Linked DNA regions of Homo sapiens: regions 1, 2, 3 and 4 are each linked to region 5. Evidence: promoter capture Hi-C in 16 types of primary human blood cells and fetal thymus (Javierre and others, 2016). All regions are on one chromosome and are shown on one strand. Each heading gives the region's core, a stretch centred on a gene start or on the middle of the fragment in contact. The rest is flanking DNA. Distances are from core to core; before and after follow the strand shown.

Region 1 (5,156 bases), core at 977-3,476, 1.3 Mb after region 5:
GAAGAATAACCTTGCCTGATAAATGTTGAAACTGTTCCCCCAAAAAAGAGTTAATGTTTTTATACAAAATGGAATTCGGTTCCACGCCCTGATCATTATAAACAAACTTTTCACCTACATAAATGTCCAGTAGCATTGGAAAGTCATGAAGGATTCGGGACAATGCTGTTATTCTAGACTATCTTCATCCCTGTCTATGCATCCAGTAAAGACTAGTAGGGCCGGGCTCAGTGGCTCACGCCTGTAATCTCAACACTTTGAGAGGCCGAGGCGGGGGAATCACGAGGTCGAGAGATCGAGACTATCCTGGCGAACATGGTGAAACCCCGTCTCTACTAAAAGTACAAAAATTAGCCAAGTGTGGCGCCACGCCCCTGCAGTCCCAGCTACTTGGGAGGCTGAGGCAGGAAAATCGCTTGAACCCGGTAGGCAGAGGTTACAGTGAGCCGAGATTGCGCCACTGCACTCCAGCTTGGTGACAGAGCAGGACTTGGCCTCAAAAACAAACAAACAAACAAGACCAGGCCGGGCGTGGTGGCTCACGCCTCTAATCCCAGCACTTTGGGAGGCCGAGGCTGGCGGATCACGAGGTCAGGAGATCAAGACCATCCTGGCTAACACGGTGAAACCCCGTTTCTACTAAAAATACAAAAAAAAAAAAAAATTAGCCGGGCGTGGTGGCGGGCACCTGTAGTCCCAGCTACTCGGGAGGCTGAGGCAGGAGAATGGCGTGAACCCGGGAGGTGGAGCTTGCAGTGAACCGAGATCGCGCCACTGCACTCCAGCCTGGGCGACTGAGCGAGACTCCGTACGAAAACAAACAAACAAAAAAGACTGGTAGTATGCCCTCAGTCATTACACAACTCAAACACCAACTCCACAAATTCCCAAAACACTCCTAGATGAAGTGGTATCCCTTCACTGAGAACTGGCCTTTCAGGGACCAGACATATCATGCAACCTAGTGAAGTGGGCTGGACCAAGACAGGTCCAGGGAGCAGCTGGGCGTCTAAAGGGGCAGCACAGTTTATTCCCAACAGTTTGTTGCCATCTGGGAATATGCCATGAGTTACCAAATATTCCAGTGATTCCAGAGAAAGCTAAAATCCAGATTCTTATGTGAAATCTTTTGATTTCTAAATATTGGCAACAAGTTTTAAGATTTGTAAACATTCTGGGAATCAAAACAGCTCTGCTGGTTTGGTGTGGCTCATGTTGCCTCACTTTGCAAAGTGTTAAGTGCTAGTAAATTTTAGTGTTTTTTCTGAGACAGGGTCTCACTTTGTCGCCCAGCCTGGAGTGCAGTGGCCATGATCTCCGCTCACTGTGGGATCGACCTCCCGGGCTCAAGCGATCCTCCCACTCTCAGCCCCCCAAGGAGCTAGGAGTAGAGCTGTCCCGCCACGACATCTGGCTGGTTTTTTGTTGTTGTTGTTGTTGTTGTTTTGGTATTTTAGTAGAGACGGGGTTTCGTCCTACTAAAGGCCCGCCTGGGCCTTCCGAAGTGCTGGGATTACAGGCGTGAGCCACCGCGCCCGGCCAAAATTTTCCTTTGTACTTACTCAAATTCCTTTCTTTTCCAAGTGAAGAAACAGACTGAGTGTATAGTGACTTACCCAGGCCACACAGTTGGATACCAGAGATAGTAGTCACAATCGCTAACATCTGCCATGTGGTCCTTACTGCAAATCTTATTTAATAATGAGGTCGGTTTTTGTTATCCCACTTAACTAATCAATAGGAGAAGCCACCTCTGATTTCCAGTCCACTATCGTGCACTCTTTCTTGCCAAGCCGTCATAGTCATTAGATTAAAAAAAAAAAAAAATTCCTGCTTTCCTGCCTCGCCTGTGCGTTTCCTTAGTCGCCCTTTCGGGGCTTGTTCTAATGAGTGCTACAGAAAAATGACGAAGTGGAAAATATAGACCATGAAATGAAAATTTAAAAGAGGAAATGGTGTCACAAAGACAACGACGGCCAGGGAACCCCGTGAAGCGCCGGGCAGGGTGCACAACTGTCCTCGGAGAAAGTTCAAGAGGAACTTCCCCGCGAACAGGTCCTGCCGGCGGCCGGGAATACGCACACTTTTTATGTTATGACTTGGACTTTCCCGAACCTTTCGAAACAGAGGGAAGGCGAGGCGGTGAAGAGGGAGAAAAATCTCCCCCACCTAAGGCAAAGGCGATGCCCGCCCGCCCCCACCCCGCGCCCGCCCGCCCGCTGGGTCACATGACACGGCCAAGATGGCCGACCGGGAAGGCGGCTGCGCTGCTGGGCGGGGGCGGGAGCTGGAGCCGGAGCTGGAGCCGGGGCCGGGGCCCGGGTCAGCGCTTGAGCCGGGAGAAGAGTTTGAGATCGTGGACCGAAGCCAGCTGCCCGGCCCAGGCGACCTGCGGAGCGCAACGAGGCCGCGGGCGGCCGAGGGCTGGTCGGCGCCCATCCTGACCCTGGCACGCAGGGCCACCGGGAACCTGTCGGCGAGCTGCGGGAGCGCGCTGCGCGCGGCCGCGGGGCTGGGCGGCGGGGACAGCGGGGACGGCACGGCGCGCGCAGGTAGGCTCGGGCCGGGTCTGTCCCGCGGCGGACTCGCGTGTCCCCGCTGGCCGCCGGCGCGGGCGCGGTGGGGGCCGGGCTGGGAGGGCACTGGCCGTTCCGGGAGGTTACGCGAGCTGTTGGCGGGCGGGCGGCGCCTGGCTGCGCCTGGGTCTTTACTCCGGCGGCCCAGCCGAGACCGCCCCCCGCAGCCCCGCGTGCCTGAGCGCGCTCCCGCACCCGCGCCTCTATGCTCTCCCACTAACTAGGTGAAGGACGTGTGCGCGTCCGGGCTTCGGAACTCTGTAGTAACTCCACACACGAAACGGAGCCAGCACTGTTCTGCTTTTCAGCCGTTCAGTGCGGGAGTGGAGCGCCGGCGGGTGTTGGGAGGGCGTGGGCCCTGCGCGCAGCGGACCAGCGGCGCCTCCGCTCACCTCTGCCTGTGAGATGGGGATTTTAAAGTCACCCGATGATCTCTTAAAGACCTTTTCAGCCCTTGTAATGAACAGAGTGCCAGCATATCAGTGATAGTAAGAGTTAAGTAACTTAGCCCTCTAACGCCAGACATCCAGAGCTGTGCTATCCAATACAACAGCACGCATATGTTTTTGTGTGTGTGTTTTTGTTTTTATTTATTTTTATTTTTTTGAGACCGGGTCTTGCTCTGTCGCCCAGGCTGGAGTGCAGTGGTGCGATCTCGGCTCACTGCACCCTCTGCCTCCCGGGTTCAAGCGATCCTCCCTCCCGCCTCAGCCTCCCGAGTAGCTGGGATTACAGGTGCCCACCACCACGCTCGGCTAAGTTCCCCGCCCCCACCCCCCTCCCATATTTTTAGTAGAAACGGGGTTTCACCATCTTGGCCAGGCTGGTCTTGAACTCCTGACCTTGTGATACACCTGCCTCGGCCTCGTAAAGTACTGGGACTACAGGCTTGAGCCACCGCGCCCGGCCGGATTCCTCAATTTCTAACTGAATCAATTGAAATTCAGTACTTTTAAATTGAATTAAAAATTGAGTTCCTCGGCCGGGAGCGGTGGCTCACGCCTGTAATCCCAGCACTTTGGGAGGCCGAAGCGGGTGGATCACGAGGTCAAGAGATCGAGACCATCCTGGCCAACATGGTGAAACCCCGTCTCTACTAAAAATACAAAAAATTAGCTGGGTGTGTTGGCATGCACCTGTAGTCCCAGCTACTCAGGAGGCTGAGGCAGGAGAATCGCTTGAACCTGGGAGGCAGAGGTTGCAGTGAGCCGAGATCGCGCCACTGCACTCCAGCCTGGGTGACAGAGCGAGACTCTGTCTCAAAAAAAAAAAAAAAAAAAAAAACTTGTTCCTCGATTACAGCGGCCACATTTTAAATGCTCAGTAGCCTGTGTGTGGCCAGTGGCTACTGTATGAGATAGCACATAATAGAACATTGCCAACTTCATAGAAAATGCTGGGACAGAGCTGAGGAAAGGTTGTGGTGCCTTCCAAGGAGCATCATAGCACACACTCGAGGCTTCCTGATTCCTCCCCATCCACTGGTACCTTTGCTGTAGATGCACTGACCCCAGGTAGTGAATTGTGAGATTTTCAGTGGTCAAGAATAATTACTGAGTAAAGTTGAAAGGCTGACTCGTTTTGAGATCCTGGCAGTGGAAAATAGCATTAGAGGATGATGAGAGCCTGGGCAGGCCGGGAATCTACTGCCCTCTAGCTTGACACCTTTTCCCGAGACTTTTCCACACATCAGTGGATGCTGAGTTGCATACTCATTGACAGTCAGTACTGAAAGTCAAGGCATGGCGTCTCCTGGAGGCCTCTTAGATATTTCGTGGCAGGAGTAAGCAAATAATAAAAGTTCTTCCCTGCTAGAATTTCTTTCCTTTAATGCAGAATCAAGGAAAAAATTAAAAAGATAAAATGAAATGTGTCAGTACCTGGCACAGAATAATAAGTGTTTGCTGAACAAATGCATATTTGAAAAATACCTGTGTTCCATCTATGGAAGTGATAGAAACAATAGCCAACACTTATATTGTCCTTCAAAGGTGCCAGGCATTAGTCTTAAACCTGTACAAGTATTCATTCATTCCTCACAACAACCCTATGTGATAGCAGGACTAGCTTCATGGGTGGACAGTCAATGCAGGCTTTGATCACTCTGGTGGAAAGGGCCAGGCACTCAGAAGTATCCCATGCTTGAAATTCTTAATTTTATCTTTGAATTTGTGTTTTTTAAGTGAAGTCCAATGGGACAGGTTCTCAGTTGCCCTGGCCCACTCGAGCTGCCCTGGGGCTTCTCCCTACCCTCCCTGATCCCACTCTTGCCCAGGCAGCGTTGGGATTGCACCCTCCGAATCTCAGGGCAGGGTGGCTGGTACCACAGCACATTAGGCAGGCAAGTGGGCAGGGGCCTCTCACCTGTCCCATCCCTGCAGGGAAGTTGCAATCCATTAGGGCTGTAGTAAGGGGGAGTCTGACTTCTGTGCTCTGCTCCAGGCCGGGAATTTTGCACTGGGCCTTGTAAATCATGTAGATGGCACAGGGTGATGAGTACCATTATTATCCCTATTTTATAAAGAGAGTATTAAAGAGAAGTAACTTCACCAACTGCAAAATGTCTATATATATATCCCA
Region 2 (5,160 bases), core at 1,092-3,591, 1.3 Mb after region 5:
AATTGTATTCATTTTAACAGCAAATGTTGAAAATGTTTCAATATGCATTCTCCCCTAAAATGTGTAGTTATAAGATAAGAGACTTGGTTTTCTTGCCATTTTTCCTTTGCTGATTAAAAAGAAGAAAAAATAAAAAAAAAAACAGGAAATGAAATCTGGTTTATATATAATTTGTCACACATGTAAGATATCCAACTTTGTAAGCACTCCAAGTTTTCATTAACTCTGCTAAAATATATTTACATTAAGAAATTTCCCAGCCCTAATGTCATTAGTTTCAAACTTCCAAACTCAGTTGTTTTGCTAAAAACGCAGATCAGGGCCAGATGGAGGAACAAGCACCCCTGATTGACCTCCCTCCGAACCAAAATCCCATAAATGACAGAAATATCTTCCTTAATTAGAAGTAGCACAAAAGGGAAAGAAAGGGGAAGGAAATGCATCATGTTCTGGGAATAAATCAGCAAGGTCACCAGCATCGCACAGCATTTGCCCCCAGTTGATATAGAAAGTGCGAATACTTGGTCCAGAGAAGAAAGACAGTCTCCCCAGGAATCACTGACTCCCTGTCCCTGAGAAGGACAGGGAACTCATGGCCAGGTGTGGTGGCTCACGCCTGTAATCCCAGCACTTTGGGAGGCCGAGGTGGGTGGATCATGAGGTCAGGAGATCAAGATCATCCTGGCTAACACAGTGAAACCCTGTGTTTACTAAAACAATACAAAAAAAATTAGCCGGGCATGGTGGCGGGTGCCTGTAGCCCCAGCTACTCGGGAGGCTGAGGCAAGAGAATGGCGTGAACCCAGGAGGCAGAGCTTGCAGTGAGCCGAGATTGCACCACTGCACTCCAGCCTGGGCAACAGAGAGAGACTCCGTCTCAAAATAAATTAATTAAATAAAGCGGGAGGCTGAGACAGTCACTTGAGGCTAGGAGTTCAAGACCAGCCTGGCCAACATGGCAAAACCCCTTATCTACTAAAAATACAAGAATTAGCCTGGCATGGTGGCGCACCTGTAATCCCAGCTACTTGGGAGGCTGAGGCAGGAGAATCACTTGAAGCCAGGAGGCGGAGGTTGCAGTGATCTGAGATCACCCCACTGCACTCTAGCTTGGATGACAAAGCAAGACTCCATCTCAAAAAAAAAAAAAAAGTAAAGTGGAATTTTAGAAATCTAGGCACATTGCAGCAAAATTTTGGAATACCAAGGAAAAAAGGAAAATCCTCATAGTTTTCTGACCGAGAGAATAGGTTGTCACAATAGAATGAAAGTCAGCTTGACATCAAGACTTATCATCAATCCCGAATCCTAAAAGATAGTAGAGCAATTTCTCTAACATTCCAAAGAAAAAACTATTCGTAATCTAGGATCCAAGACCCAGCCAATCTAGCCTTAAATTGGGGGTGCAAAATAAAGACATTTTCATGCATATATGGGTTCATCCCACCTATAAACTCCCCCCAAAGAATCTAAGAAAATAAAAGAGATCAACTACAGTAAGTGCTGGAGGGAGAAATAAAGACAGAGATGATGCACTAAACTGGTCTTAAAAATATGAAACTAAAGTCTCCAATGAGCTCAGTGTGGTAGGGAATTGGTCCCAGGCGGGCAGGAGCAGCGGCGAGAGAACGGCGATTAAATTCACATTCCCAGTGCGGGCAGGACTGTCCCAAAGCAAGAACAGAGCTTTCTGCAAATGATCCGGTCAGACCTGTCTCACTTCTGAAAACAACCTCATTGGGATTTCTAATAAACTGGACTGATTCACTAAATAATTGGACTAGCAAACCAAACCAGTTTTACCTTTTTTTTTTTTTTTTGAGACAGAATCTCGCTCTGTCGCCCAGGCTGGAGTGTAGTGGCATGATCTCAGCTCACTGCAAGCTCCGCCTCCCGGGTTCACGCCATTCTCCTGCCTCAGCCTCCCGAGTAGCTGGGTCTACAGGTGCCCGCCACCACGCCTGGCTAATTTTTTGTATTTTTAGTAGAGACAGGGCTTCACCGTGTTAGCCAGGATGGTCTCCATCTCCTGACCTTGTGATCTGCCCACCTCGGCCTCCCAAAGTGCTGGAATTACAGGCGTCAGCCACAAAGCTCTTTCTCTTAACTTACATTGTCAGGAAACTGGTAACATAGATTGAATGACCCGCCCCAGTTTTTCACCCACACTCACACCCTCGCCATAGCCTCCCTTTCCCACCCCTTGACTTTGGGCTTGGCCAAAGGGATGCCAGCAGGCATGACACAGCAAAACTGGAAATGTGTTTGTGGGGTTAGATGTGCCGTCTCTCAGGGCCCTGCCATCAGCCAGAGACGAAACTGCCCCTGCTGGTCCCAGGAAGAGGATGAGAGGCATGTGGAGCAGAGCTGCCCAGCCAACCCACAAACTCATGAGTAAGAAATAAATGATTATTACTGTTTGCCACTGAGATGTGGGGATGGTTTGTTACACAGCATAAGTGTGACAATAGCTAACTGATACTCAGAGGGCAAGTGCCACTGCAGCAAACATGAGGAGGAATTCCTGAGCCTTTATATTAAAGTGGCTGCTCTCACTAGAGACACGATTGGACTCTGGCTGGTGCGATGACTCACACCTGCAGTCCCAACACTTGGGAGGCCAAGAGCAGAGGATTGCTTGAGCCCAGGAGTTTGAAAGCAGGCTGGGCAATGGATCAAGACTCCATCTCTACAACAACAACAACAAAAACACAGTGTTTTGAACTGAAGGAGCCATACAAAGGATGTCATACAGATTTATTAAATTCAAAACCAGGCTGGGCACGGTGGCTCACACCTGTAATCCCAGCACTTTGGGAGGCAGAGGTGGGCGGATTACCCGAGGTCAGAAGTTCAAGACCAGCCTGGTCAACATGGTGAAACCCCGTCTCTACTAAAAATACAAAAATTAGTCAGGCGTGGTGGTGCACGCCTCTAATCCCAGCTACTTGGGAGGCTGAGGCAGGAGAATTGATTGAACCTAGGAGGTGGAAGTTGCAGTGAGTCAGGATTGCGCCACTGCACTCGAGCCTGGGCGACAAGAGCGAAAGTCAGTTAAAAAAAAATCCAGAAAAACTACTTTTCTGGAATGCAAATCAGAATAGTGGCTGCTTGGGGATTAGGGGACAAGGGAAGTTGAGTAGACTGTAAAGGGATTGGGGGGAATTTTCTACAATGGTGGCAATGTTTTCTGCCTTGATTGGGGTGTTGGCTACAGATAGATATTTGTAAAAAGCCATTGAATTATATATTTAAGATCTGTGTGTTTTACTAAACTATTCCTCAATTTTTCAATTAGCAATAATCACGCCTCGGATAAACCTCATTGGCTATGATACTGCCACTGCACAAAGCTATTCCTCAATTTTTAAAAACATGTCTGTATGGAGTGGATACCCAGACCAGGGTGAGGCTGAGGTGCAAACAGGCCTACCTGAGGTGCCGGGCAGCCTTCCAAGACTCCAAGACTAGGTGGGCTCTGGGCAGACAAAGCCTCCCTCTCACAAAAGGTCTGGGAACCCTTTTCAGGGGGCTCAGAGTCCGGCCACATCTCTAGGTTTTCTGACGTCCTAGACACACCATGAGAAAGAACTTTGACTGGGCTCTCAATCTGGTTGGTGACCTAGGATATGGGGCTCATACCCAGGACCAAGAACCCAGGGCTTCTATCCAGAGCCTAGGACTTGGGGCTTATACCCACGGCCTAAAACCTGGGGCATATACCCAGGGCCTAGGACACAGGTTTATGCCCAGGGCCTAGGACACAAGGCTAATACCTAGAAAGAACACAGAACTTACACCCAGGGCCTGGAACTCGGGGCTTATAACCAGGGCCTAGGACATGGGGCTTATACCCAGAGACTAGGACACAAGGCTTATAACCAGAAAGGACACAGAACTTATATTCAGGGCCTAGAACCCGGGGCTTATACCCAGGGATTAGGACATGGGGCTTATACCCAGAGCCTAGGACACAAGGCTTATACCCAGAAAGGACGTGGGGCTTATACTCAGAGCCTAGGACACAAGGTTTATACCCAGAGCCTAGGACATGGGGCTTATACTCAAAGCCTAGGACATGGGGCTTATACCCAGAGCCTAGGAAACACAAGGCTTATATGCAGAAAGGACACAGGGCTTATACCCGGAGCCTAGGACATGGGGTTTAACCCAAGGTCTAGGACACAAGATTTATACCCAGAGCCTAGGACAAGGGGCTGAGAACCAGAGAATAGGACACAAGGCTTATACCCAGAACCTAGGACAGAAGGTTTATACCCAGAGCCTAGGACACAAGGCTTGTATCCAGAGCCTAGGACCCGGGGCTTCTACCCAGAGCCTAGGACCCAGGCCTTACACCTAGAGCCTAGGAGGCGGGGCTTACACCCAGAGCCTAGAACCCGGGGCTTATACCCAGAGTCTAGGACCCTAGGCTTATACCCAGGGCCTAGGAAGCAAGGCTTATACCCAGAGCCTAGGACACAAGGTTTATATGCAGAACCTAGGACCCGGGGCTTATACCCAGAACCTAGGACACAAGGCTTATACCCAGAGGCTAGGACGCGGGGCTCATATTCAGAGCGTAGGACACAGAGCCTGTATTCAGAACACACTAACCTGGAAACAGATGCTCTGAAACACAACTAGGAGAAAACCTGGCAAATGTCAGTCGTGATTGTCTCTTGTCCCCATGCAATAGGATTACAAGTGTTTTCCTTTTCTTTGTTCTTGTTGGTTCCTTATAAATTTAAAATAAATGATTAACCTCAAAAGTATTTGTGGACATGTGATTACATATAGAAGAGTGATTGTTAAATATTCTTTCTCAGGATAGCTTTATACTCTGAAAATCTCCTGTGGACCCTAAGGAACTTTACGTGAATTGCATCTATCAATTTTACTGTAATACAGATTAAATTTGAGGAGGTTTTGAAATATTTACTTATTTTAAAATAGTAATGATTCCACAGTGTCTACATATTTCAAAACATCATGTTGTACACGTTAAATAATTTCATTTTCAATTAAAAATAAGCTTTAAAAAGAATTCAAATTGCTCAATTTTTTAAATTAAAAACAACAAACCCATTGTTGTATGTTAACAATAAATAATTTTGTATGGAAAGCAACAATATCTTCTGCAAAATTAGTGAGTTGCAT
Region 3 (4,900 bases), core at 583-3,082, 1.4 Mb after region 5:
TCTTGGCTCACTGCAACCTCCACCTCTCCGGTTCAAGTGATTTTCCTGCTTCAGCCTCCCAAGTAGCTGGGATTACAGGCGTCTGCCATCATGCTTGGCTAATTTTTGTATTTTTAGTAGAAATAGGGTTTCACCATGTTGGCGGCCAGGTTGGTGTCGAACTCCTGACCTCAGGTGACCCACCTGCCTTGGCCTCCCAAAGTGCTGGGATTACAGGTGTGAGCCACTGTGCCCGGCTGGATTTTAAAATTTTCTTTATTTTTTTTTTGAGACAGAGTCTGGCTCTGGAGTGCTGTGGTGTGATGCTGGCTCACTGCATCCTCTGCCTCCCAGGTTCATGCGATTCTCCTGTCCCAGTCTCAGGAGTAACTCGGACTGTAGGGCGCATGCCACCAAGCCCAGCTAATTTTTTTTTTTTTTCCTTTGAGACAGAGTCTCACTCTGTCGCCCAGATTGGTGTGCAGTAGTGTGATCTCGGCTCACTGTAACCTCCACCTCCCAGGTTCAGGTGATTCTCCCACCTCAGCCTCCAGGAGTAGCTGAGACTACAGGCATGCGCCACCACACCCGGCTAATTTTTTTGTATTTTGGTAGGGATGGAGTTTCACCATGTTGCCCAGGTTGGTCTCGAACTCCTGAGCTCAGGCAATCTGCCCACCTCAGCCTCCCAAAGTGCTAGGCTTACAGGCACCCGACACCGCATCTGGCCAATTTTTGGTATTTTTAGTAGAGACATGGTTTCACCTTGTTGGTCAGGATGGCCTTTTAACTCCTGACCTCGTGATAGGCCCGCCTCGACCTCTCAAAGTGCTGGGATTACAAGCGTGAGCCACCACGCCTGGCCCCAGGAAATCTGGATTTTTAATGTGGTATCTCCAAATTCTGAAACTTTGGCAACTAATGCAATTTTTAGAAGACTGTGGGCCAGGCAGACTGCATTCTATGGAGGTAGAAAAGGAGGCCTGAGGCCGGGCTCGGTGGCTCACGCCTGTAATCCCAGCACTTTGGGAGGCCGAGGCGGGCAGATCACGAGATTAGGAGTTTGAGACCAGCCTGGCCAACATGGTGAAACCCCATCTCTACTAAAAATATAAAAATTAGCCGGGCGTGGTGGCAGCGCCTGTAGTCCCAGCTACTCGGGAGGCTGAGGCAGAAGAATCGTTTGAACCCGCGAGGTGGAGGTTGCAGTGAGCCGAGATCGTGCCCCTGCACGGCAGCCTGGGCGGCAGAGCGCGACTGTCTCAAAAACAAACAAACAAAAAATTAGCCGGGCGTGGTGGCGCATGCCTGTAATCCAGCTACTTGGGAGGCTGAGGCAGGAGAGTCGCTTGAACCCAGGAGGCGGAGGTTGAGGTGAGCCGAGATCGCGCCATTGCACTCCAGCCTGGGCAACAAGAGCTAAACTCCGTCTCAAAAAGAAAAGAAAAGAAAAGAAAAGGAGGCCTGAGCCCGGCGCGGTGGCTCACGCCTGTAATCCCACGTTTGGGAGGCTGAGGTGGGAGGACTGCTTGAGCCCGGAAGCTCGAGGTTGCAGTGAGCCATCATCGCGCCACTGCACTCCAGCCTGGGTGACAAGAGCGAGACCCCGTGTTTAAAAATAAGTTTAAAAAAAAAAAAAAAAAAAAAAAAAGGCCTGTAACAGAGACGCGACTCTCCAAAATGCCACACAGGCAAGTGGGGGCCGCACAGCCCATGGTTTCCAGAAAGCTTCTCTTGGGAATGTAAAATAACACTTACCCTGGGACTTCTAGTTTCTAAACCTCCTGAGCCTAGAGGCCCTGAAGACGGACCAAGTGCAAAGTCCCCGACCCCATACACCGTCCTCCGCTCCCTCCGCACCACACCCTTCATTCCCTGAGCACCGCGGTTCCTCCGTCTCCGGGACTTCGCCCTCCGTTACCTGGATGGCCTGCAAGGCCATTACCCGCCACTCCACCCTATCTGGGCCATGTCGGCTGCAAGCTTGGCTTCCACTCCGCACTCCCGGAGAGCCACGCGCAGACCCTCCTCCACGGCCCCATCACACCCTCCCAAGACAGGCAGCTTAGGCTTGCGTCCCCTGCCGACACCCAGCACCGAGGGGCAGTCCCCGAGGCCACGCAGACCTCCCCAACCCACACGCACAGACCGACCCGGGGAACCGCGGGAGCCAGTCCCGCGCTGGGGCAGTGGCAGACCCGAGGCGTGAGGCGCGCATGCGTAGCGCGGCCTTTATTGCGTCACTGCGAGTCCAGAGCGCACGGCTGGATCATGAGCACGCCCGCGCTGGCGCCTGCGCGCTTGCGCATCTTCCTCTGCCCGGCGCGCGCCGCAGCCGTCGGGATCACCTCGGGGTTGCGCTGCTTCTCCAGCAAGTGCATGCGCGCCATGGTCTCAGTCAGCATGTCTATGAGCAGTTCCTGCTGCAGCTTCAGGTAGTTGTTCTCCTCCAGCAACACTTGGCTTTTGGACCGCTGCACCTGCGCCTTCCAGCCCCAGGCGGTCCGCGAGAGCAGCGGCGACCGCGTCCTCGCCAGCTGGCTCTCAGTGGTCCACCGCCCGCCGCGGAACACGAAGGCCTGGTTGCTGAGGCGCATGCACGGCGCGCCGTAGGCGAGGCCCAGCTCGGCCTGGCGCGTGTTGTGGTCCAGCAGGTAGAAGGTGGACAGGGAGGGCATGCGGCGCAGTGGCGGCCGCCGTGGCGAGAAGGGCCGCGAGATGTGATCGGCCCAAAACTGCTGCAGCGTCTGCCACAGGCGGCTGGCATGGCTCGTAGCCGAGCACTCGAAGGTTGCCAGGGCGTGGACCTTGTAGGGCACGCAGGTGCTCGAAGGGGAGCCTCGGGAGCGCTGGCGACTCGTGCTGCGCTCTTGTCTCGGGAGCCCGGATGTCCAGAATGATGAAGGCGAGCCAGGGGGCGCTGCTGGGAGACAAGAGTCCGGGTGAGCAGCGTGCTTGGTACAGGCCGCCTCTCAAACCGCGAGGCCGGCGGACATGTCTTAGCCCTGCAGCTACGGCTGCGGCTGTGTCTCACCAGCTGCTGGCCACCGAGGAGCCCGTCGTTCCACGCTGCACAGGCAGCAGTCTCACCTAAACCATCTTCCCCAAAGACCACTGAGGATCAGGCCCTGGGATACATATGCAGATGAAGGACGGGAGGAGGGCCTTGTTCTGAGTTGCAGCTGGAAGGGTGAGGGGTAGGGAATGGTAGCAAGACAAGTAAGTAGGTACTTAAAGGAGGAGTAGGACTTTGCCAGGTGGGTTGAGGATGGAAAATGGAGAACTTCTAGGCAGAGGGAAGAGCCGAGCAGGGCTTTCTTTTTCTTTTTTTTTGAGACTGAGTCTCGCTGTCGTTGCCCGAGCTGGAGTGCAATTGCGCGATCTTGGCTCACTGCAACCTCCACCTCCCGGGTTCCAGCAGTTCTCCTGCCTCAGCCTCTTGAGTAGCTGAGATTACAGGCGCCTGCCATCACCCCCACCTGATTTTTGTATTTTTAGTGAAGACGGGGTTTCACCATGTTGGCCAGGCTGGTCTCGAACTCCTGACCTCAGGTGATCCACCCAACTCGGCCTCCCAAAGTGCCCGGATTACAGGCATGAGTCACTGCGCCTGGCCTTTTTTTTTTTTTTTTTTTTTTTTTTGTATTTTTAGTAGAAATGGGGTTTCACCTTATTGGCCAGGCTGGTCTCGAACTCCGGACCTCAGGTGATCTGCCCGCCTCAGCGCCAAAGTGCTGGGATTACAGGTGTGAGCCACTGTACCCGGCAGGGCAGGACTTTCATATTTCAGATGTGAACACGAGCTTGGATAGGATTGGTGCTGGGAAGAGCAGAAGAGGAAGCTGGGAAGGTGGACCAGTGCACTATGTGAAGGTGCCCTACAGGCAGGCTCGGAAGCTTAGACTTCCTTTTGTGGGTAAGAGGGAACTGCTGAAGGATTAGAAAGCCGGGGTTAGATCTGGATTCTGAAAGCAATCTGGGAGGATATCTAGCATAGCCAACAGCATTATTGCCCTCATCATTCAGTCATTTGATAGACTTGAACTAGCATCTGCTCTGTGCCAGACTCTGGTCTTGGGAAGGGGACCTGAAACAGCCTCTGCCTGCCCTCAAGGTGCTCCTAATCCAGCTTGGAAGACAGATGCGTGTATAGACCACAGTCCAGTGTGTTCACTGACATCCTGGGGTGTGTGCCATGGGCTAGACCTATGCATAGGGCTCAAAGTATCAGGGATTGTGCACACTAAACATGACTTTTATTCCAAACAAACTGTGCCCTCAGGAAGTCCAAAGTCCAGATAACAGACAAGTCCCATTTTGCTCACTTCTCTCTGCACCCCCCACCCCTGCCCAGTAAGTGCTGATTCTATTATGTGAAAAAGGGAGCTATGTGTTGTTTCTAATTCCTCTTCTGCCCATGGGCAGTGAGAAGAGAAAGAACTAGAGCAGGGTTCCCTCTGTTATGCCTTCGTTAATTCATAATACACTTATCCCTCACATATAGGTGGACAGAGGCTGGATGGTACATACCATCCCCAAGATCTGGTTCAGGGAGATGGTCTCTGGAAGCCCACATCCAGGCCCACCCTTGAGATTGTATCTTCTCGGAGGATGTTTCCCCGTTAGTCCTCACTGTATGTTGTGCCTCACCTGGAAGATGGGGTGGAGTTGCTGAGCTGCTGTCCCAGGGCTAGTCCCATCTCTGACCCACTCAGCTCTTGTCCACCTGCTATGACTCACAATGCCTCCAGGCCAGGCCACCCCAGGACAAGAAGGGGTGCTGACCGCTGAGCTGTCAGATAGACTCTGGGCTCTCCCCTGCATGCATTCAGTGCATCATTGAGCACCTACTGTGTTCTAGGAACAGTTCTAGGGAAGTGAAGAACATATTCCCTCACTGAGCTGTCATTCTTGGCAGGGG
Region 4 (5,546 bases), core at 2,645-5,144, 1.4 Mb after region 5:
GTAGAGACAGGGTCTCACTTTGTTGCCCAAGGTGGTCTCAAACTCTTGGCCTCAAGCAATCTTCCCTGGTTAGCCTCCCAACTGCTGGGTTATAGGCATGAGCCACCTCGCCCAGCCAGGATCATAGTTTTCATAATTCAATTATCCTTTTAACATGTAACCTGGTTGGGTGTGGTGGCTCACACCTGTAATCCCAACACTTTGGGAGGCCGACGTGGGTGGATTACCTGAGGTTGGGAGTTCGAGACCAACATGGGGAAACCCCATCTCTACTAAAAATACAAAATTAGGCAGGCGTGGTGGTGCGTGCCTGTAATCCCAGTTACTCGAGAGGCTGAGGCAGAAGAATCGCTTGGACCCGGGAGACGGAGGTTGCAGTGAGCCGAGATTGCACCATTGCACTCCAGCCTGGGCAACAAGAGCGAAACTCCATCTCAAAAATAAAAATAAAAATAAAAATAAACCTGACTTGCTGAAATTTTATAGTTTTCTTTCTCCGCCATCATATCAGGGTTATGTAGCATTGCAAAATGAATTAGTAAGCTTTTCCTTATGCCTGGGAACAGCTAGCTTCTAGATCATGGGCATTATTTGCCCCTTGTGAATATGAAGCAGCCAGGTGTGATGGCTCACGATTGTAATCCCAGCACTTTGGGAGGCCAAGGCAGATGGATTACCTGAGATCAGGAGTTCAAGATCAACCTGGCCAACATGGTGAAACCCCATCTCTACTAAAAATACAAAAATTAACCGGCATGGTGGCGGGCATCTGTAGTCCCAGCTGCTCGAGGCTGAGGCAAGAGAATCACTTGAACCTGGGAGGCAGAGGTTGTGGTGAGCTGAGATTGCGCCACTGCACTCCAGCCTGGGTGACAGAGTGAGACTCTGTCTCAAAAAAAAATTTATGAAGCTGAAAGCATTTATGAGGCAATACGTTGCTAGCTTTTCAGTTTTTACTTAGTTCATCTGGGTTTTCTTTTGAGGATATATCTTTTCTCATATAAATATATATATATATATATATTTTAAGACGGAGTTTTGCTCTGTCGCCCAGGCTGGAGTGCAGTAGCGCGATCTCGGCTCACTGCAAGCTCCGCCTCCCAGGTTCACGCCATTCTCCTGCCTCAGCCTCTCGAGTAGCTGGAACTACAGGCACCTGCCACCACACTTGGCTAATTTTTTGTATTTTTAGTAGAAACTGGGTTTCACTGTGTTAGCCAGGATGGTCTCGATCTCCTGACCACGTGATCCGCCCGCCTCGGCCTCCCAAAGTGCTGGGATTGCAGGTGTTGAGCCACTGTGCCCGGCCAGTCATTTATATTTTTATTTATTTTTATTTTTTATTTTATTTTATTTTTTTGAGACAGAGTCCTGCTCTGTCGCCCAGGCTGGAGTGCAGTGGCATGATCTCCGCTCACTGCAAGCTTCGCCTCCCAGGTTCACGCCATTCTCCTGCCTCAGCCTCCCAAGTAGCTGGGATTGCAGGCGCCCACCACCATGCCCAGCTAATTTTTTGTATTTTAGTAGAGACGGGGTTTCACCGTGTTAGCCAGGATGGTCTCGATCTCCTGACGTTGTGATCCGCCCGCCTCGGCCTCCCAAAGTGCTGGGATTACAGGCGTGAGCCACCACGTCAGGCCTATATTTTTAAGAAAAATATACAATTGGGGGGTATTTTCTAAATTATCAAGTTGGCACAGAATTGACAATTGTATACTCTTAAAACTTTCCATTCCCTCTGTATCTTTTGGTTTTTTTCCCTTTTTCATTTTGTGTCTTTGTATTTTTATATTTGTCCCCCGGTTCCTAAGCCTTGGTTCATTAGCCTTGCTAAGTTTATTTCTTTGTCCCCCACTCACTGGCAACAGGGACTGGTCTTTGGCAGCATGACCTGTTGCCCAGAAGTACAGGCTCTAGAGCCAGATTCCCTGGGTTCAGATGCCAGCACCCCTTTGTAGATATGTGAACTTGAGTGAATTCTTTTATATAAAATTATGGCTGCCTTGTCTGTAAAATGGGCTAACAGTAGGATCTACCTCATTGAATTGTGGGGAAGATTAAATGAGTTGATGCATTTAAAGTGCTTAGAGGCCAGGTGTGGAAGCTCATGCCAGTAATCTCAGCAGTTTGGGAGGCTGGGGCAGGAGGAGGATCACCTGAGCCCAGGAGTTCAAGATCAGTCTGGGTGACATAGTGAAACCTCACCTCTACAAAAAAATACAAAAATTAGCTGGGCCTGGTGGCAAGGTGGGAGGCCAAGGTGGGAGGATCATGAGCCTTGGAGGTTGAGGCTACAGTGAGCCATGATCACACCACTGCACTCCAGCCTGGGCGACAGAGCAAGACCCTGTTTCAAAAACAAAAAAAAACAAAAAAAAGTAGTACATGTTATTAAATAATATTTTTTAAATGGGGAAGGTGTAAAAGGGATTTAAAAACACCTTGGGACCGGGCGCAGTGGCTCACGCCTGTGATCCCAGCACTTTGGGAGGCCGAAGCAGGCAGATCACGAGGTCAGGAGATTGAGACCATCCTGGCTAACACAGTGAAACCCCGTCTCTACTAAAAATACAATTAGCCGAGCATGTTGACGGGCGCCTGTGGTCCCAGCTATTTGGGAGGCTGAGGCAGGAGAATCACCTGAACCCAGGAGGTGGAGGTTCCAGTGAGTTGAGCTCGCGCCACTGCACTCCAGACTAGGCGAAAGAGTAAGACTCTGTCTCAAAACAAACAAACAAAAAACACCTTGGATCCTTCTACCCAAAAATACTAATACCTTGTTAATGAATTTTACTTTAGGTATATGACTGCCAACACATTTTGGTTTCTATCACCATTTGTGTTGGGAGAAAAAAATTCTCTTTCCAGATGACTAAAAAAGAAATAGGCCGGGCACAGTGGTTCATGCCTGTAGTCCCAGCACTTTGGAAGGCCAGGGTGGGCAGCCTCACCTGAGGTCAGGAGTTCGAGACCAGCCTGGCCAACATGGTGAAACCCTGTCTCTACTAAAAATACAAAAAAATTAGCCAGGTGCAGTGGCACGCACCTGTAGTCTAGGCTATTCGGGAGGCTGAGGCTGGAAAATCGCTTGAACCCGGGAGGCAGAGGTTGCAGTGAGCCAAGATCACTCCACTGCACTCTAGTCTGGGCGACAGAGCGAGACTTTGCCTCAAAATAAAAAAAGAAAGATTAAATTTTCGGGACAAAACTTATTGAAAAGTATGTTGCAAATGTATATTTAGAATTCTCATCTTCTCTGAGTTAATTGGAGACCCTCTGCCTTTCCATTTCATACAGGAAATCTAGGAATCTCTCTTACTGTTTACAGATTGAGAAAACAGTCAGCTTGTATAAGTTTATGTTTACTTAATATTCTTATTTTCTACAGCTGCACAGTTGGGGATCTTCAAACCAAGATAGATGGCTTGGAAAAGACTAACTCAAAGCTTCAAGAAGAGGTTTGTAAGTTTTATTGAAATTTTTAGACAAAACAGAATGACCCAAGGTTAAGAGAATCTGTGTAGTCGGTCTGCGATAGCAGAGCTTCCTGCTGGTAGGAAGGGGACTTGCTAGCCTCCAGCTACCCCACGTGGGACAGGAGAATGTCTGTGTTCTGCTCTGTCCGAGGCTCCCAGTGAGACACTGCAGCGGATCACGAGCCAGTTCTAAGTGACTTAGATTTTATCACCTCAAAGTCATCCCATAGAAGGAAATTGTTCTTTGGAAGAGCCCAGCTTGTGTTGTGGAAGTGCCGTGTCTTCCTCTTTTTCTGCCCTTCCCATGATGCCGTGTGCCTCCCTGCTGCCCCAGAAAGCACAGACTCTGTCATAAGGAATAAGTATCCAGCCCACCCCTTCTGCTTTGGCCTCAGGAGCATGCAACCAGCCTCCCCACAGTGCGGTCTTTCTCTGCTTTCTCACTAGGAAGAGAGAATGAAAGGACAGGACAAAGGAGGGCTGAGCCGAGGAAGAGAGCTTGCTGCCAGCTGCCCGGCAGTCTCCTTGCTGGACACATCTTGTCTCCTGTTAGCAGGAGGGGGGTGCTCAGCCCTTCTGAGGCTTTCCACAGGTAGCAGTCCCCGGCTGCCCAGGCCTCCCACCTAGAAGGACAAGGGCTCTGAGAGGGGCTTGAGAAGGAACACCTCCACGGCATGGAGGTGGGTTACAGCAGAGAAGAGAGCCTCAGAGCCCATCTCTGTAATGAGGGACCCCGTGTAAGCCTCCCTTAAAGCTGACTGCTCCCTCCTGAGGCGCCAGCCCTGAAAGGCCTTCAGGAAAGGAGCTCAGATTTGTGTGAGTAGAAGGAAATTCAAGACGGTGTCACAGATGGGGGTGTCATGGGAGAAGCTTCATGGAACTTAGGATTGGAGGCTTCACAGTCACCTTGGTAGGCAGGCCTTTGAGCCTCAGGTCAGGCAGGTCGGTGGTTGAGCCTCACTTTTGTCACCTCCAAATTAGGTAATAATACATCCTTTACTGTTGCAAAGATTAAGACGAATATCTGGTAAATGTGCTCAGGACAACACTTGCCACGTGGGAGCACTCGAGTTGTTTGATTTTAGAACAAGCAGATTCCCTGCATCTCAGTCAAGATGGCGTGCTTTGATGAAGCTCCAATTGAGCTTTTGAAACTAAGCAGAGTTATGTGGGGTTTTTCTGCTTTTTGAGACAGGGTCTCACTCTGTCACCCAGGCTGGAGTGCAGTGGCGCAGTCATAGCTTACTGTAACCTCAGACTTCTGGGCTCAAGAGACCCTCCTGCCTCAACCTCCCAGTAGCTGGGACTACAGGTACACACCACCAACACCCGGCTAATTTTTTAACTCTTTGTAGAGACGGGATCTCACTTTGTTGTTCAGGCTGGTCTCAAACTCCTGGGCTAAAGTGACCCACCCACCTTGGCCTCCCAAAGTGCTAGGATTACAGACATGAGTCACTGAGCCCAGCTTCGGTTATGTTTTCTTTTTTCTTTCTTTCTTTTTTTTTTTTTTTTGAGACAGAGTCTTGCTCTGTCTCCCAGGCTGGAGTGCAGTAGTGACGTGATCTCCGCTCACTGCAAGCTCCCAAGCTCCACCTCCCGGGTTCACGCCATTCTCCTGCCTCAGCCTCCCGAGTAGCTGGGACTACAGGCGCCCGCCACCACGCCCGGCTAAATTTTTTTTTTTTTTTTTTTTTTAGTAGAGATGGCATTTCACCATGTTAGCCAGGATGGTCTCAATCTCCTGACCTTGTGATCTGCCCACCTCGGCCTCCCAAAGTGCTGGGATTACAGGCATGAGCCACTGCACCCAGCCAGGTTATGTTTTCTTTAAAGGCAAATGATTGTAATAGAAAATGTGCTTCAGGCAGGTGTGGTGGCTCATGCCTGTAAATCCCAGCTCTTTGGGAGGCCAAGGTGGAAGACTTGCTTCAGCCCAGGAGTTTGAGACCAGCCTGGGCAACATGGCAACACCCTGTCTCTACAAAAAATTTAAAAGTTAGCTGTGGTGACACACACCTGTACTCCCAGCTACTCGGGAGGCTGAGGTGAGAGGATCACTTGAGCCTA
Region 5 (5,068 bases), core at 1,705-4,204:
ACTCGGTCAGCTACACTACACTGGGCCCATGTGAGTGACTGTCTTTGTTACCGTCTCACCCTCTTCCCGGGGGCTGGCCACAGTCCACTTACCCAGAATTCAGGAAATAGAACACACAGAGCTGCTCCGGCAGGGTCTCTGACAGCCTCTGCGCATAGTCCACGATGTTGTCATGCAGGTACCGGCTGTTGGTGTTGAGCACCTGGTTCTGCTCATGTGCTGCTTGGACCACGAGAGGGTGGCAGTGCCCAACTGGAAGAGGGCCGCCTCCGTCACACGGCTGGCTCCACTCAGCCAGTCCCACTGGGCCTCCCCCAGCCCCAAGCTATAAACCCAGCCAGAAGAGATGTAGTTCTAGAGGGAGAGGTAGAAAGAGGGCAGTCTGAAGGCAGAGCAGGGAGAGAGAAGCTGGTTCTGGAAAGGCAGATCCAGGAGTTCCTGAGATTCTGGCAGAAGGAAAGCCGCTTCAGCAGAAGAACCCTGTCTAGAAAGCCCATGTCTTTAAGGAGGACTTTTTTTTTTTTTTTTAACAGGGCCTTACTCTGTCACCCAGGCTGGAGTGTATGGTGTGATCATGGCATTCACTGCATCCTCACACTCCTGGGCTCAAGTGGTCCTCCCACCTCAGCCTCCTGAGCAGGTGGGGCTATAGACACCAGTCACCATGCCTGGCTAATTTTTAAGTTTTTTTTTGGTAGAGACAAGGTCTCATTATGTTGCCCAGGCTGGAAGGCCTTTTGAGGCTTGTATGACAAAGGTGGGGTGGGGGGTGACTGTCAACTGGTTTCACTTCACCAGCCAAGGGGGCTGGTGGTAATCTTGATTGTCAAAGGCCAAGGATAATAACAGTGAATATGTACTGAGAGCTCACCATGTGCCAGGCACATTCAGAGCAAGCTACATAAATTAACACACTTAATTCTCCAAACACCTTAAAGTGGGTACCTAGTATCATTATGTCTTTCACAGATAAGCAAACTGAGGCACTGAGAATTAAGTAACTTGCCCGAGATCACAAGTTAGTAAGTAGGGGACAGGGATTTGAGCCCAAGCAGTCTAAGACTAGAGTCTCTGCTTTTTTTTTTTTTTTAACCTCAACTTTATTCATCTTCCATGTGCCTGCTGAGTCTCAGACTCCCTTTCTTTCCATCAGCTCTGGCAGCCTCATCAAGATGACTGAATTCCTACTTCAGCTCCCTTGCCTAGCACCTGAGATGGCCAATGGGGCTGAAGCACTGCCATGACCCCAGCACTTGGCCAGCACTGTGCTACGTTGCTGGTCACAGCTGGGCCATCTGCCACTTTGTGAGCTCATCATCAGTCCCAAGTGGAACTAGACTCACAGACCTAGATTGCTGACCCCTGCCTGGTTTAGCACAGCTCCAGATTGCAGAATTCCACAGCTATATTGCGAAGGCTGAGCCTCCTCTGCATACTGACAGTGCCTCAACTCCACCCAGGTTCTCCACACCTCTCGGCAATCTCAGGTCACCTTGGGACCAGGTTCACAGCACTGCCTTCCTCTCCTGCCCTGCCAGCCTGAGGTGTGATACTGACCGTGCGCCACATTGCTGATGCAATCGATGTATTCTGCCCCCTGTTCATCGTACATGTACTGCCCTTGGGCCCGGACAATCTTAACAGGATCCTCGGGAAAAAAGAGTCTGCAGGAAGAGCTGTGGGGACAGGCAAGGAGTGGACAGCCATGTCTGAAGACCGAAAGGGTGAAGTCTACTCATCGCAGACCCCCGCCCACCCCTTCCCAGTTTCTGGTGGCGGGGGGGAAATGAGAGCTGGAAGGGCAAGGTGCTGCTTCCCTGCCTTGTCTCTCCACTCCACAGGTGGTTGCAAAGCAGGAAGCAGATGGGGTAACAAGTCGCTGAAACTTCGGATTGTTTCTGAAAGCATTTTCAGCCTCTGTGGCCTCCTTGCTCATTTCTGCATGTGTCCGCGTCAGTCTCCCGGATCCTGAGAAAAGGTGGCTGCCCCGTCCCATGGGGACTCCATAAGGCCGCGTGTCTTCGATGGGATGGGCCAGGGCACCAACATTAGGTGCCTGGCTCTCAGCCCTAAACAGCTCCTTGCCAGCCACGTGGCCCTGCTGCCCCTCGCTGGGTGCCAGCCCTAAGCTCCAGTGGGAGGCGACCTCACCCACCGTCCCACCGAGGGCCCCCTCACAGGTCAAGTGTGCTGCCTGTGAACCGACTCCCCCGACTCTCCCTTGTCTGCCCTTTCAGCCCCCTCCCAGGTCACTCTCGAGCCAGGCCCAGGTGCTGCTGACGGGCCACCCTGGGTGAGGTCCTCTCAGGCGCCAGGGTGAAGGTCTTCTCCGGAGTAAAGGCTGCCAAGCGAGGCTGACACAGCCGAACAGCGGTGAGGGCGGGGCCGTCTCCTGAACTGGGCGGCCTGGAGACGGCGCTGTCGGGGAGGCGGCCCCGGAGACCACCCGCCGGGACTGCCCAACGGCGCCGCCCGCCTCGGGCCCTAGAAGCTCCAGCGGGGCCGGGGCAGCGGCCGGACGGGATGGGTAGCAGCGGCTTCCTAGCCGGAGGCGCGTGCGTAGTGCGTGCGTGCGTGCGTCGTGCGTGCGCGTGCCTCTCCGCGCAGCCCCGCGCCCCCCGCCGCCCGCCCCCCGCCCGGGTACCTGATGAGCCGTTGCCTCAGGGCCAGCGTGTCGGCCTTCGGGCGCTGGTCTGCGGCCATGGTGGGTGGCCGTCAGTCGGTGCCGTGACGCCACGCGGAGACGTCGCCGCGCGGGCTGGGCCTCCAAGGCCCCGCTCCGGGCCCCGCCCCTGCCTGGGTCGGGATTTGGGGCTCAGGTTCGCACTCGGCCCCGCCCCGAAGCGCCCGCGTTGCGGTGGTTCATTTCTTCGCTTGCCCACTGGGCCTGGCAGCCTTCCGGCCCGTGGTCGTGCCTTGGCAGTCCCGCGCAGGAACTCGAGCGCTGCCCCGTCTCTGGTTCCGGGACGCGCCCCGGGCCTCGCCCCGCAGGCCCCGCCCCGCAGGCCCCTGCGGCCTCCCTTCCGGGAAAGGGTCCCGGACGACCCCGCCCCTGCTCCCGGCGCCCAGGCGGGGCTCGGAGCTCCTGCAGGCCTTCTCTGGGCCAGACTCAGTCTTTGAGTCGCCTTGTGCATAAAATGGGATGAACTGTGAGGCCTAAGTGCGAGTATGTGACTGGTACCTTACCCGGGCCTGGTACACAGTAGGGGCCTCAGGGTGGGAGAAGCAGGTCCTAGGTTTTCCCAGCCCCATGAAGGGGCAGCAGGAAGAGCAGAAGGAGAGCCCAGGGTCCCTTCTGGGGCTGACCAAGGAGATCACCATGGGCTTGACCTTCAGGGCACCATAGTTCCTGCTAGAATCTAGGCAGGGTGAACCGGACGAGCTGTATCGTCGCTGAGAGAATCATGCAGCGTTTGGGCAAGAAGAGAGGTTGGGAATCCTCCTTGTGGTACATGTCGGTGACCCTGAAGCCCAGAAAGGGAAAGGGTTTTGTTGTCAGACACGCAGCAAGGCTGCAGAGGCTGGACTCCTACTGAGGTCTTCTTGACTCCCAGCCCAGGGAGTGAGAAGAAAAAGCCTCCCAAGGGGCTGGGATATGAGAGAAAAGCCCCCTCCTGGGGTGAGGCACTGGGGCTTTCTGCCTTGAAGAACCCTGGAACACGGGCCTGGGACTGCAGCAGGTGCAGGGGAGGCTCCTGATTGTCCCTTCTTTCTGTCCACATCATGATTCCCAGGCCTCTGCTTCACTCCCTCATTGCTGATTTCTTCTTCTCTTCCCAATACAGTTGTAAGATGCATAAGGCATTTATTGAACTCTTGACCTCAGATGATCTGCCTGCCTCGGCCTCCCAGAGTGCTGGGATTACAGGCCGGGTGAGCCACCGCACCCGGCCGCTTAAGGCATTTATTAAAGAACATTTGGAGTTTCTTTTTTCTTTATTGTGTAAAATATACATAACAAAATTTTACCATTTTAACCATTTTTAAGGATACAATTCAGTGGCAAAAGTACATTCACATCGTCGTGCAGCCATCACCACCATCCATGCAACAGGACTTTTTCATCTTCCCTAAAAGAATGGAATTTCTTATTTTTAACTGTAAAGCTGAATTGAATATTTTACATGATTTTTGGAAAAAATTCTTCCCAAATTAACTGCGAGGTTAACTGCTTGTGGCCTGTATTTTTTTTTTTTTTTAAAGAAAGGGTCTTATTCTGTTGTTCAGGCTGGAGTGCAGCATTGCAGTCTCTACCTCCCTGGGATCATGTGATCCTCCCATCTCAGCCTCTCAAGTACCTGCTACTACAGGTGCACGCCACCATACCCAGCCTGTACTTCGTTTCTGAGGATCAAGACCTCACAGACCGTGTGTGTGTGTGTGTATTTGTGTGTGTGTGAGTCCTATTTGGGCCCCGCCTTTCAGCCCTGTCTTGCAGCCCAAACTCCAGCCACAGCTGTGGCCCCGTGCAGCTCAGAGGAATCAGGTTGGCTCAGGGGCTTTTCCTGCTTTAAGGCAGAGGGTGAGAAGGCTGTAGCTGGGCCCGGCTAACATCTCACCTGCTCCTGGGTCAAGAGGTGATATAGTTGGAGGTCAGACCAGGTTGAGCCATTTCCTGGGCCAGGAGTATCTTATAGCATGGCACAGAACACCAGGAGGCCTCACCTTCTTCCTGCTCAGAAAAGCCCACTCCTTGTCTCTGGCCCTGTGCCAGGCACTCATCTGTCCTTTATTTCATGCCTGGCCCTCTAGGCAATGTTGGAGTCCAAGAGGGTAGGGGATGGAAGTGGCTGAGTCAGGATTTGAACCCAGGGCATGGTGTTTCTCAACAGGGTTGGCACCGGGATTCTTGTTGAGATGATTTGTCACTGGGTAGGACTGTCCTATGCATTTTAGGTGTTTGCTATCCCTGGCCCTGTCCCCTGAATGCCCAGGTGTCCTGCAATCATTGTGCTAACCAGAAGCATCCCATGTATTCCTAGTGGTCTCCTAGGGACCAGGAGGAAAGAGACCTGGTAAGTCCCCTTCACATTCATCTATAAAAAGGGATCGTCATCCTTGTGGTTAG

The links. The method cuts DNA at HindIII sites, captures the fragments that hold promoters and counts their contacts. A CHiCAGO score of 5 or more calls a contact.
Region 1: the fragment with the promoter of RUFY1 here is called in contact with the fragment with the promoter of PHYKPL in region 5 in 1 of 17 cell types (endothelial precursors); the score reaches 6.9 in endothelial precursors.
Region 2: a contact is called between a fragment that was not itself captured here and the fragment with the promoter of PHYKPL in region 5, in 1 of 17 cell types (endothelial precursors). The highest score is 6.1, in endothelial precursors.
Region 3: a fragment that was not itself captured here is called in contact with the fragment with the promoter of PHYKPL in region 5 in 1 of 17 cell types (fetal thymus); the score reaches 5.1 in fetal thymus.
Region 4: a fragment that was not itself captured here is called in contact with the fragment with the promoter of PHYKPL in region 5 in 1 of 17 cell types (erythroblasts); the score reaches 5.9 in erythroblasts.

Annotation. Positions count from the first base shown.
Region 1 is chr5:179,548,328-179,553,483 of GRCh38, forward strand. RUFY1 (RUN and FYVE domain containing 1) reads left to right here and starts at 2,227. Exons shown (of 18, transcript NM_025158.5): 1 at 2,227-2,552. The coding sequence starts at 2,243. All of the region lies in intron 4 of LOC128966623 (a long non-coding RNA gene), which reads left to right. LOC105377762 (a long non-coding RNA gene) reads right to left here and starts at 2,177. Exons shown (of 4, transcript XR_941315.4): 1 at 1,617-2,177. RefSeq lists a silencer at 2,152-2,861. The HindIII fragment of the contact is 8,514 bases long and covers 1-5,156 here.
Region 2 is chr5:179,488,803-179,493,962 of GRCh38, forward strand. It overlaps LOC124901224 (U4 spliceosomal RNA), which reads right to left and starts at 3,355; the gene lies at 3,213-3,355. The HindIII fragment of the contact is 5,384 bases long and covers 1-5,033 here.
Region 3 is chr5:179,676,364-179,681,263 of GRCh38, forward strand. CBY3 (chibby family member 3) reads right to left here and starts at 4,671. Exons shown (of 2, transcript NM_001164444.2): 1 at 4,510-4,671; 2 at 2,197-2,902. The coding sequence starts at 4,555. The coding sequence ends at 2,220. It also overlaps a transcript of CANX not described here. RefSeq lists enhancers at 1,873-2,488, 2,376-2,635. The HindIII fragment of the contact is 255 bases long and covers 1,706-1,960 here.
Region 4 is chr5:179,582,408-179,587,953 of GRCh38, forward strand. It overlaps RUFY1 (RUN and FYVE domain containing 1), which reads left to right. Exons shown (of 18, transcript NM_025158.5): 8 at 3,389-3,458. The region is part of intron 4 of LOC128966623 (a long non-coding RNA gene); the gene reads left to right. Among named protein-coding and RNA genes, the nearest start is that of RUFY1-AS1, 19 kb to the right of the region's middle. The HindIII fragment of the contact is 900 bases long and covers 3,445-4,344 here.
Region 5 is chr5:178,229,848-178,234,915 of GRCh38, forward strand. It overlaps PHYKPL (5-phosphohydroxy-L-lysine phospho-lyase), which reads right to left and starts at 2,955. Exons shown (of 13, transcript NM_153373.4): 1 at 2,645-2,955; 2 at 1,558-1,676; 3 at 93-252. The coding sequence starts at 2,703. It overlaps LOC112267937 (a long non-coding RNA gene), which reads left to right and starts at 4,191. Exons shown (of 3, transcript XR_002956238.2): 1 at 4,191-5,068. RefSeq lists silencers at 2,380-2,699, 2,780-3,189 and an enhancer at 2,579-3,117. The HindIII fragment of the contact is 8,512 bases long and covers 1-5,068 here.